Linked DNA regions of Homo sapiens: regions 1 and 3 are each linked to region 2. Evidence: promoter capture Hi-C in 16 types of primary human blood cells and fetal thymus (Javierre and others, 2016). All regions are on one chromosome and are shown on one strand. Each heading gives the region's core, a stretch centred on a gene start or on the middle of the fragment in contact. The rest is flanking DNA. Distances are from core to core; before and after follow the strand shown. Region 1 overlaps LOC124906289 (a long non-coding RNA gene). Region 2 holds the start of PIK3CB (phosphatidylinositol-4,5-bisphosphate 3-kinase catalytic subunit beta). Region 3 has its middle 12 kb from the start of LINC01391.

The links. The method cuts DNA at HindIII sites, captures the fragments that hold promoters and counts their contacts. A CHiCAGO score of 5 or more calls a contact.
Region 1: a fragment that was not itself captured here is called in contact with the fragment with the promoter of PIK3CB in region 2 in 4 of 17 cell types (neutrophils, endothelial precursors, monocytes and 1 more); the score reaches 7.8 in neutrophils.
Region 3: a fragment that was not itself captured here is called in contact with the fragment with the promoter of PIK3CB in region 2 in 1 of 17 cell types (neutrophils); the score reaches 5.3 in neutrophils.

The regions. Positions count from the first base shown.
Region 1 is chr3:138,897,921-138,901,766 of GRCh38, reverse strand. It overlaps LOC124906289 (a long non-coding RNA gene), which reads left to right. Exons shown (of 2, transcript XR_007096114.1): 2 at 1,673-2,012. Among named protein-coding and RNA genes, the nearest start is that of LINC01391, 44 kb to the left of the region's middle. The HindIII fragment of the contact is 764 bases long and covers 2,160-2,923 here.
Region 2 is chr3:138,832,884-138,836,897 of GRCh38, reverse strand. PIK3CB (phosphatidylinositol-4,5-bisphosphate 3-kinase catalytic subunit beta) reads left to right here and starts at 1,970. Exons shown (of 24, transcript NM_006219.3): 1 at 1,970-2,203. RefSeq lists a silencer at 1,734-2,473. The HindIII fragment of the contact is 25,969 bases long and covers 1-4,014 here.
Region 3 is chr3:138,929,541-138,933,754 of GRCh38, reverse strand. No RefSeq gene overlaps it. Among named protein-coding and RNA genes, the nearest start is that of LINC01391, 12 kb to the left of the region's middle. The HindIII fragment of the contact is 6,746 bases long and covers 1-4,214 here.

The sequences.
Region 1 (3,846 bases), core at 1,292-3,791, 64 kb before region 2:
AAGGCCACCCAGGAACAGGAAGGGAACATGCAGAATCTTTTTTTTTTTTTTTTTTTTTGAGACGAAGTTTCACTCTTGTTGCTCAAGCTGGAGTGCAATGGCATGCTCTCGGCTCACTGCAACCTCCGCCTCCCGGGTTCAAGCAATTCTCCTGACTCAGCCTCCCAAGTAGCTGGGATTACAGGCACTACAGGTGCGCGCCCACGCCGGGCTAATTTTTTGTATTTTTAGTAGAAATGGGGTTTCACCATGTTAGCCAGGCTGGTCTGGAACTCCTGACCTCAGGTGATCTGCCCGCCTTGGCCTCCCAAAGTGCTGGGATTACAGGCAAGAGCAACCACGCCCGGCCACCACGCAGAATCTTACCGGATGGGCCGGGTGTCAGGAGTTCAAGACCACCCTGGCCAACATGGTGAAACCCCGTCTCTACTAAAAATACAAAAAATGAGCCGGGCATGGTGGTGTGTGCCTGTAATCCTAGCTACTCAGGAGGCTGAGGCAGGAAAATTACTTGAACCCAGGAGGTGGAGGTGGCAGTGAGCCAAGATCGAGCCATTACACTCCCGCCTGGGCAACAACAGCGAAACTCAGTCTCAAAAAAAAAAGAATTTTCCAGGATGGTTTTTAATAGGCCAAGCTTCAGAGTGCTATATGTCAGCTCCTACTTATATTTTTTTTGCCATAACTTTATATGATTTCCTATCTAGCTGCAAGAGAGCTAGGAAGTGTGACCTAGCTAGAAGCTTAGGAAGGAGAAGAAAGGGTTTTGGTGAGCATCTAGTCAGTCTCTCCACACATATGGTAAGCACCACTTACCCCTCCAGTAGGACAGGTCTGAGCGTGGCCTTTGCCAGGCAATCCTAAAGTATGCATACCCTCAGTCCCATGCCAGTCCTCGATCTGAGATGGACTGGCAACCCAGTGTCCACCTTCATCCTGTCATCCCCCATAGTCAATCAATCACTAAATACCAACCTCTCCCTCCTTACACATGTCTCTAAATAGCCAATGCCTTTCTGTCTGCAACTGCCAGACCTTTGTGCAACAGCCTTCCATCTGGTCTCCCTTCATGCAAGACTTCTGCTCTCAGGGAGCTTATATTCTTCTATAAGGCTGCAAGTGAGCAAATACATCAAGGAACAAGAGAATGGCAGGTGCTATGAGGAAGCAGATGTTGAAATGGTAGAGAATAGCTGTTTGGGGTGTAGAGGAGTGGTTAATACATAGAGAGCAGTCAGTGAAGACTGCACTGTGGCAGTAGCTGTGGCAGATAGTATTTCCCAAAAATTATCCAGAAAAACAATATTTCAATTTCCACACGCTGTTTCAGAACCCTGCCACTCCCTCAAGTGGCAGACTCTGTGTTCCCTTCAGTTGAATTCCCATGGGTCTTTTGGTCTTCTCAACTAATAAAATACAACAGAACTCCCAAGGCTAGGTCAGAAAAGACATTACAGCTTCCACCTGACTTTTGTTTTGTTTTTTTTGAGACAGAGTCTCACTCTGTTGTCCAGGTTGGATGACATGCCATGCCATGCAGTGGCATGATCTCAGCTCACTGCAACCTCTGCTTCCTGGGCTGAAGCAATTCTCATGCCTCAGCCTCCCAAGCAGTTGGGATTACAGGCACACGTCACCATGCTCAGCTAATTTTTGTATTTTTTTTTTGTAGAGACGGGGTTTCACCATGTTGCCCAGGCTGCTCTCGAACACCTGAGCTGAAGCTTCCCAAAGTGTAGGGATTACAAGCGTGAGCCACCGTGCCCAGCCTCTACCCAACTCTTTTAGGACACATTCCCAGGAGCCTAGCTACGTGGAGAATAGCTAAAGCCCCAGCCTTCAACCCTTGCTTAACTCATAGAGGACTGCCATGTGAGTGAGCCAACTCAGAGGCAAATTCTCAGTTAGCTGATTTGCCCCAGCTGATGGTGCATGGAGCAAAATGAGCCTTCCCCATGAAGCCCTGCCCAAAATACAGATATATGAGCAAAATAAATGATTGTTGTTTTGAAGCCACTGAGTTTTGGAGTGTTTCACTATGGAGCAATAGTAACTGAACTCAGGCCTAAATACCAAGGAGTCAGCCATGAGGAAATCTTCATAGAGCATTTTAAGCATAGCCAACAACAAATCCCATGGCTTGAAGACAGGAACAAGCTTGGCACACTGAGGAACAGAGACGGTCAGGTAGCTGAGGGGGAGAGCCCTAAGAAGCGTGGTTGGAGAGGAAGGCTGAGCCACATTAAAGCCTCTTGGGCCATGAAGAAGTCTGAAATGATCAAAAGTTCAGTAGGAGTTCATTCTCCTCATAGCCGCAAGAGCCAACAAGGGTTGTGAGCAAGGCAATGATGGGATTTATTGTCTTAAAAGATGGCTCCAGAAGCTATGGGGAGAATGATACGTAGCAGTATGAAAGTGGAAGCAGATGCTGGGCACGGTGGCTCATGCGTGTAATCCCAGCACTTTGGGAGGCCGAGGAGGGTGAAGAGCTTGAGCCCAGGAATTCAAGACCAGCCTGGGCAACATGGCAAAACCTTGTCTCTACAAAAAATACAAAAATTAGCTGGGCATTGTGGTGTGCACCTGTAGTCCCAACTCCTCAGGAGGCTGAGGTGGGAGGATCACTTGAGCTGGGGAGGCAGAAGTTGCAGTGAGCTGAGATCATGCCACTGCACTCCAGCCTGGGTAATAGAGCAAGACTGAATCAAAAGGAAAAAAAAAAAAAGGAAAGAAAGGAAGAAAGAAAGAAAAGAAGGAAGGAAGGAGGGAGGGAGGGAAGGAAGAAAGGATGAAAGAAAGAAAGAAAGAACCAACAGTGGAAGCAAGGAGATCAGTTAGCAATTGTCCAAGATGAACACAGTTGACACCCAATAGTGAGGAGAAGAAGATAGACTCCAGGCACATTTTGTAGAGGCAATAAGCTTTGCTGATAAGATGAGAGGTGAGGGACAAGGAAGAATAAAAGCAAACCTCTAGGTTTTTGTCTCAAGCAGACATGTGAATGACAGTGCTGTTGGCTAGATGAGAAAGGCTTGGAGAGGAACAGGGTTGGGGTGGGATAAACCTTCCCCTTCCCTCAGGATATCTGATTTCAATGTGGTTGTAGAAAGAATCCAAGCTGGCTAAATAATTCTCACTAAGCAGTTACCAGGAGGCAAGTACAGAGCTTCCGACTCTGGTAGGGGTGGAGATTCTGATAACTACTTGGCTTGCCTTAGGAATTCCTTTCTATTTATGTGTTTGCCTATATAGCTTTTAGAGTCTCTATGCAGAGTGTGGTTGTTATAATTACTATGGCAAAAATCCCAGCTGGAAGCTAAAACACACCCAAAGGAGGAAATTGAACTCAACATGTAGGAGACCCAGCCAAGTGCTTTTCCCAAACCATACTGCTTTAGCCAGTCTGGAGAAGAGCTCCTGAGTGACCAAGAGGAAGGAACCAGGCCTTAGGTACCTACTGAAAAAATGGCTAATAAGAGACAGGGGAACAAACTACAAACTCCTGGAAGGACTCCCAAAGCAGGCAGAAGACCTAGGCTCTAGAGAGCAGCTTCTGCATCTCCCCTATAGGGAGAGGGAGAAGGATGGACCCTAGAGTGGCACAAGAGTAGAAAGGATCCCAGGCCAGGCCACACCTACAACCCTTCCTTAGTTTCCCTCTCTCGCCCCAGTTTGAAGAACTTCGCTGCTCCACTGAATTCCCTCCCTCTAGAGGACGCAGCTCCAAAGCTCAGAAGGAAACTGCTCTCTTCACTTGGTCCTAAGGGAGGGTCATTCACCTGTGCTGGCTTCTTTTTTTTTTTTTAGACAGAGTCTCACTCTGTCACCAGGCTGGAGTACAGTGGT
Region 2 (4,014 bases), core at 721-3,220:
GATGGAGACCATCCCGGCCAACACAGGGAAATCCCGTCTCTACTAAAAAACAAAAAATTAGCCGGGCATGGTGGTGCGCGCCTGCAGTCCCAGCTACTTGGGAGGCTGAGGCAGGGGAATCCCTTGAATTCAGGAGGCGGAGGTTGCAGTGAGCCGAGATTGTGCCACTGTACTACAGCCTGACGACAGAGCAAGACTCCGTCTCAAAAAAAGAAAAAAAAAATTAGGCGTGTGTGGTGGCGGGTGCCTGTAATCCCAGCTACTCTGGAGGTTGAGGCAAGAGAACTGCTTGAACCTGGGAGGTGGAGGTTGCCATGAGCTGAGATGGTGCCACTGCACTCCAGCCTGGGCAACAGAATGAGACTGTCTCAAAAAAAAATTTTTTTTTCCTCTTAAGTTTCTGTTTTGTAAATTTTTATATTTTTTAATTCTTCTGGATTTTTTTTTTTTTTCCTAGACAGGGTCTTGCTCTATTTCCCGGGCTGGAGTGCAGTGGTGCTACCGTGCTATCTCGACTCACACCAGCCTCGACTTCCCTCGACTTCCTGGGTTCATATTATCCTCCCACCTCAGTCTCCCAAGTAGCTGGGACAACAGATGCACATCACCACACTCACGTCATTTTTGTCAGTCTCGCCATATTGCCCAGGCTAGGTGTGAACTCCTGGGCTCAAGTGATCTGCCCACCTCGGCCTCCCAAAGTGTTGGTATTACAGCCTCTTCTGGAATTTATTTTTCAATGTTCTTGCTTTAAATCGAAAGTCAATTAAAACCAGGATCATTGGCCGGGCACGGTGGCTCATGTCTGTAATCCCAGCCCTTTGGGAGGCCGAGGCGGGCTGATCACCTGAGGTCGGGAGTTCGAGACCAGCCTGACCAACGTGGAGAAACCCCGTCTCTACTAAAAATACAAAATTAGCCAGGCGTGGTGGCGCATGCCTGTAATCCTCAGGAAGGCTGAGGCAGGAGAATCGCTTGACCGGGGGACGCAGAGTTGCGGTGAGCCAAGATCGCGCCATTGCACTCCAGCCTGGGCAACAGTAGCGAAACTCTCATTCAAAATAAGTAAATAAATAAAAAATAAAAAAACTAGGATCATTTCTCAAATAAACTATTGGTTTGTCACTTAATTGATTTGTCACGTTTGCTTTTTATTATGTTGTACTTCTAGATTTTATCCCTGACTACTCAACTATTTGTCCAGGGTAATATAGGAGCATTACGTTAGAATATACTAGCTTTGGAGTGAGTTAAAATGTTGGTTTTCAGTAAGTAAAATTTAAGTGTCCCACTAGAAAGAGGACTGTGATTTTTCGCGGTTGGGGTCAAAGGTAACAGGAAACAAGGTAGGCAAAAAGGGGTAAAGTTTAAGGCTCTGCAGACAAATGTTAGGTGTTGTTACTGCAAAATTGAACAAAGAACAAGAATCTTGGGCTTGAAAGCCTGGACTTTTCCCTAGAAACAACCATTCACAGTGTAGGGACTGAAGGGCCAGCTGTGAGGCAGCCGAGCTAGCGCCCTATCCTCACAAAGGGAGTGAAAGACGGAGACGGGTATCGGGAAAAAAATAAGTGCTGCGTCCAAGAATTTAGGAGTCAGTCCATGTCGCAGAACAGGGAGAAGGGCTGGGAAGAAAAGGCCAGCAAGGAACCTAGGAAGAGCGGAATCTCTCGGGAGGAGGTTATGGAGGCCGCAGCGGGTGATGGGTCTCTCCTGAAGGCGACTTGCCGGGGATTCCCTATTCCGCAGTCCTCTGGGAGTCGCAAAGAGAGTTAGGAAAGGCCGTGCAGCAGCGTCGCAGCCGGGCTGGCAACGGTAGAGGAATCGGCAGTGAGGCCTCTCCCCACACCCTGCCAGCCCAACTGCCGCCGCCGCCGCCGCCGCCACCGCGGGGCCCGGGATTGGCCCGAGGGCGGCGCAGGGCGGGGCGGGGGCTGCTGGGATGCAGGCCTGAGAGGCTGGCGCGCGCGCACACGGGCGCGGGTTCGGCGGCGGCGCGCGCGTGCTCTGTCGGCCTGTGCGGCGCTGCGGCGGAGCGGGCCATGGCAGTGGGGAGGGGGCGAGTGTAGTGCTGCGCGGGGCAGGCGGGAGGTGATCGAGAGAGGCAGGGATGGGGGCGCCGGAGTGGAGCGGTTGCGGCGGCCTGGGCTGCTGACTGCGCACTTGGAATAGTAGCAGGCGGCGGCGGCGGAACGCCAGGCAGGTGAGTGCGGCGGCCGGGACCCGGATGCGGCGCGGCTGAGGGGCGGCTGGGTCGCGGCGCCGGCTGCGGTGCCCCCGGGCGTGCTGGCGGTGCGTTCTAGCTTGCCGCTACCTGCGGCGCTGGCGACTCTTGTGGTTGCACCGCGCTTCCTGCCAGCTTGGAGGATAACCGCCTACCGGCCGGTGGGGGCGTCTGGCTTGGTTGCGGCCCGCCCTGGGCTCTCCAAGGTGAGTGGCGCCCCCCGGCCCCTGGGCGGCAGAGACGCTGCCGGGCGTCCCGGGTCACTGTCGCTTTGGGTCCCGTTCCTGAGGGGCGTTTCTGTGGAGAGACGGCGTACTCGCGCCCCGCGTCTATGCGGACACCTCCGGAACTTCCCGACCCTCAGGTGCCTTTTTGCGCAGAAGTGTATTTCAGAGGCGTGGACCCAGGGTTATTAGGTTATGGACATGTTTTCGAATCCCAACGCCGCTGCTGACCAGTCCTGGGGCCTTGGGCCAAAATATCCTGATGTGTTAAATGGAAATAATAATACATACACCATAAGGTTGTTGTGAGGTTAGGCATAACTGAACAAGTGCTAAGTAAATGATACCCCTGCTGCAGCATCTCGTGTTAGCTATTGCTAATTCCTGGCTGCTGGCGTGCGTTTGGGGGCACATTTATTTCCGATCTGCTCTGGTGTTGCAGTAACCGATACTGGAGTTGCTTAATATTGGAGCCTGTTAACCTCGCAGTGGCCAAAATAGAATCCTATAGTCCCTTACTAGAATCCTGCAGTCTCTTCCCGCAGGGCTGAATTGGAACCCTGTCTCAGGTACTGAGTGGGAATTACTGCTGAAATGAAACCGAGCAAATTCGGGATTCGCTTAGGATGAAAGATGGTGGGACGTAAACTTGAAGTGCTTTGCTGTTTCATCTCAAGTGACACTTGAACTCTGCCACTTGTTACAGAGTTATAAACACACGAAGAGTATGGAAACAGACTCTTTTTTCTGCATTGCTACATCCAAAGGGAGTGACAAGTGCTTTTGTAAACATCATTGTGGGCAGTGTGACTGTCTGGTGAAGTCATGATAATTAAATGAGTACTTATTTTGAAGCACTGAATGGAAGTTTGGAGATATGATTCGTAATAAAATTGTCTCCAACGAGTCAGAGGTCTCAGCAGTTCATTAATCATTTGGGGATTTTTATGCTACATTGTAAGATTTTATGGTAAAAGCAGAACTGTTTAAGTCATAATAATGTAGCACAGGAAAGGGTGGTCAGATAAGGATCTTAACCCAGTTTCAGAATGCAGGTATGGAAGAAAGTAAAGTCTTTTTTCTGACCAGGTGCGTTGGCTCACGCCTGTAATCCCAGCACTTTGGGAGGCCGAGGCGGGCGGATCAATTGATTCCAGGAGTTCGACACCAGCCCAAGCAACATGGTGAAACCCCGTCTCTACCAAAAACACAAAAATTAGCAGGGCGTGGTGGCGGGCGCTTGTAATCCCAGCTACTTGGGAGGCTGAGGCAGGAGAATCCCTTGAACCCGGGAGGCGGAGGTTGCAGTGAGCCGAGATGGCACCACTGGACTCCAGCCTGGGCAACAGAGGGATACCCTGTCTCAAAAAGAAAAAAAAAAAATCTTTTTGAGACCGAATCTTGCTTCTTTTTTAAAAAAAAATTATTGTTGTTTTTTGAGGCAGGGTCTCGGTCTGTCGCCCAGGCTGGAGTGCAATGTCGCCATCTTGGCTCACTGCAACCTCCGCCTCCTGGGTTCAAGCGATCCTCCTGCCTCAGGCTCCCTAGTGGCTGAGACTACAGGGG
Region 3 (4,214 bases), core at 1,450-3,949, 96 kb before region 2:
TCCATCTCCCAGAAATGATAGGTTGATAGCAACACCACCTCCATCTAGGATGCAGTTAAAGAGGAATTTAATTTTTTAAAAAATTAACCCAACCAGCCTGATCCCAGTAGAATCAACTGCACATCAAAATTTCATGGAAAAAAGTTTTTAAAACACAGATTTCAAGATCATCTTCAAACTAAACAGCTTCTGCCTCTGGAGATGGCGCTTGGCAATCTGTGTGTATCTGTAGTTCCTCCAGGTGATTCTGAAGAAGCCTGTGGAGCCACATTAGGGAATCACTGCAGTTCTCAATTGAATTGAAAACAGGTTTCTCCAGGTGGCCTCCAGAAAATGCAGATTCCAAACAGTCTTCCGTTGGGACCACATGGAATGAGAAAGAGCTTGGGTGTAACTGTGGTGGGGGAAGTGAATACATATTTGTTTTTATGTGCTTTTGATGGGCTGTTGTCTGTGCACACGGCAGGCCTCTTTGGTCACAAGTAACATAAACCCACTAGAGCTGGCTTTAAACCAAACGGGTGGCTGGGGTGGGGGGTGTTTTTATAAGGATTCATGAGTGACCCCTGGAGACCCAGGCAGGGTGGTAGCCAGACTCCCTGAAGGGCTATGCTGCAACAGGAGCTGAGGTGATGGCAAGAACCAACTTTTCCTGCTGCTCTGGTCAGGTCTCTCCTCTGCTCCATTTGAGAGAGGAGCTCCAGCGACAGCTATAATTTCTGAGTGTCAATTCAATCTTCCTGTGTGAGAAAGCTGATTGGTATCCTGGGTCAGGTACTGTCCTGGAGATACACCCCAGTCCTGTCAACTGGAGCTGAGGAAGAGGGTCTGCTGGTAGCTTCTGATGGTCGCTCCTTGTGGGAAGAGGGCAGTCATGGCACTCATGAGAGGCTAAGCAGACACCCCAGGAAGTCATTTGTTTCAGTCTAGCCTGTCCAACCACTCAATCAATAGCTCAAGGATTTTTGATCCTAGCTGCACTACAAAATTGCCTCAGGGGCTTTAAAAACCTATTGTGCCTTGGCTGGGCGCGGTGGCTCACGCCTGTAATCCCAGCACTTTGGGAGGCCGAGGCAGGTGGATCACGAGGTCAGGAGATCGAGACCATCGTGGCTAACACCATGAAACCCCATCTCTACTAAAAATACAAAAAATTAGCCGAGTGTGGTGGTGGGCGCCTGTAGTCCCAGCTACTTGGGAGGCTGAGGCAGGAGAATGGCATGAACCCGGGAGGCAGAGCTTGCAGTGAGCCGAGATCGCGCCACTGCACTCCAGCCTAGGCAACAGAGGGAGACTCCATCTCGAAAAAAAAAAAAAAAAAAAATATTGTGTCTTACCTCCATGTCTTGGGTGTAGCCAGGGTATTGAGATTATTTTTTTAAGCAATGCTGGTGATTCCAATGTACAGCTAAGGTTAAGAACCACAGCCAGGAGCAGTGGCTCATGCCTGTAATCACAGCACTTTGGGAGGCTGAGGCAGGCAGATCACCTGAGGTCAGGAGTTTGAGACCAGCCTAGCCAACATGGTGAAACCCTGTCTCTACTAAATATACAAACATTAGCCGGGCATGGTGGCACATGTCTGTAGTCCCAGATACTCAGAAGGCTGAGACAGGAGAATTGCTTGAACTCGGGGGGCAGAGGTTGTAGTGAGCCGAGATCACACCACTGCACTCCAGCCTGGGCAACAGAGTGAGACTCTGTCCCCCACAAAAAAAGAACCATGGCAATAACTAAATAGGGAACCTACAGCCAATTTAGCCATTTGCTAAAGATATAGCTTCAAAATATCCAATGAAGAGAAAAATTATTAAAATCTAATGGTTTGCACATGGCTTATTTTCATCTAAATTGTACATACCCTAGTCCAAATTTCAAATGCCATGATTATTCACATTTGACATTTTCTAAACTTCTTGACATAAATGTTATGTTAAGTTCCTTTTGTAAAAAACTTGCCTTTCTGGAAATCCTGAGGCACCAGAACATAGGATGGCTCCGCATGGCCTCAGCTGACCCTCAGGCCCCTATAGACCACCAGCCCCTTCTTTTCCAGGGTCTCCAGCTTGCCAGGGTAGTCTCAAAGCCCCCCCAAAAAAACCCGAATTACACTGATCTTGCTTGCCCCTGCCCACAGGCCTGTGCTTCAGGGTTCCCACCCAGGAGCTTCTGACACATTTTCTGGAGGCCAAAGAGGATAAACTCTACCCCTTCAGTCAAGCTGGCAAACACTGATGAAAACTTTGTCCTAGTCCAGGTGTAGTGGCTCATGCCTATAATCCCAGCATTTTGGGAGACTGAGGCAGACAGATCATCTGAGGTCAGGAGTTCAATACCAGCCTGGTCAACATGGTGAAACCTAGTCTCTACTAAAAATGAAAAAAAAAAAAATGGCCAGGCATGGTGGTGCATGCCTGTAGTCCCAGCTACTTGGGAGGCTGAAGCAGGAGAATGGCTTGAGCCTAAGAGGTGGAGGTTGCAGTGAGCCGAGATGGCACCACTGCACTCCAGCCTGGGTGACAGAGCAAGACTCCTCAAAAAAAACAAACAAAACTTTGTCCTAGTGCATGGCAGCCTTGAAGAATATCTTTATTTTGCTTTGTTTCCCTTCCTTATAGTTTTCCCTAAGCAATTAGTCAATCAACAAATAGTTCATAAATAGCTATGATGTGCAAAGCACAAGGTAAAAAAAGAAGGATCACTTCAGAGATCTTGTCACTGGGAGAAATGCAACAGCAACCCCTCTAGGCTTGGCCTTGCATGGATACTAAGGTGCCTATTAAAGGGATCTTTCCTCAGCTGTCTATTCTTTTTAGCTTAACCCAGGGCTAGGACTCAAGCAATTATAGAGGGTGAGGGATGGCAGCAAATAGAAGGGAGCTGTCCTGCCTGGCTGGGTGCAAGAATGAGGGTGGGGTATGAGGGATGCTGCTCTTCCCATGGCTGAATCACCCTGAGAGCTGTTTCCTGCTTCCAGAACCAGAGAGCACAGGCAGCACAAGACAAGACCAAACTGCCTTTTCAAAAGCGGAGAAAGGTGATCAACACAAAGACCAGTGACTGATGGAGGATGTCCAGAGAGTGGGGCTGGGGACAGATACCATGACATTTGAAACTATAGAGAGGGCTTGGAGATCCCAAATGAAGTCTAGGGCTGTGATTTTCAAAGTGTGGAACCCAAATCATCAGCAGCACCTAGGACCTTGTTAGAAATGCAAACTCTCAACCCCACCTCAGCCCCACTGAATCAGCAACTCTAGGGTGGAGCCAGCAGTCTGTCTTACGAAGGCCTCCAGGTGATCCGGATGCAAACTCAAGTTTGAAAACAAATGGTTTACTCTAGGGAAGCCCTCATCCCACACATCCTGCACCTAAAACACATGGCTGGGTGCGGTGGCTCATGCCTGTTATCCCAGCATTTTGAGCGGCAGAAACGGGAGGATAACTTGAGGCCAGGAGTTTGAGACCAGCCTGGGCAACATAACGAGACCACCCCCTCCCCGCCCCCCACCATCTCTACAAAGAATTTAAAAATTAGGCACTGGCCGGGCTTGGTAGCTCATGCCTATAATCCCAACTACTTGGGAGGATCCATGGAGCCCAGTAGTATGAGGCTGCGGAGCTATGATTGTGCCGCTGCACTCCAGCCTGGGCAGCAGCAAGACCTTGTCTCTAAAAAACAAACAAACAAAAAAAGAAACACTTTCAGGCTTTTAGATCCCTGAATGGTTTCCAAGAAGCCAGGCAGGAATTCTGATGTTACCCCAACAAGAATTGTTGCCACTGTCCCCCCAGCCACCAGTCTCCCCTTCCTACTCCCTACTCCCTACCCCTCACCCCCAAACTCCTCTTGCCAGGAATGACTGCTGGCCCAGGCCAGTGACAGAGAGCCAGGAACCTTCTCTAGAGGCTAGGCAACTTGAGCAGAAGCATCCCCCAGAGAGGCTGCCTGGAGTCCTGAAGCTGTTACCAGTTTTTTCTCACAGGCCTTTGGCAGCTGCCCATTTACCTGCCCAGGGTGCTGGGAAATTCCAGTCCCTGAGTTTTGGGGTGGGACTTGGTTGGTTCACTATAGGACAGGAGTGACCAATCAAAAACAGGCTCCAAAGGGGATGAAAGAAGCTAGGCACATGCATCACTTGTTGACTTCGTAGGTGGGGGGTGGGAGGGCTGTATTAGATAGTTTACCCACTGCAGACCTCTCTGGGACTTAG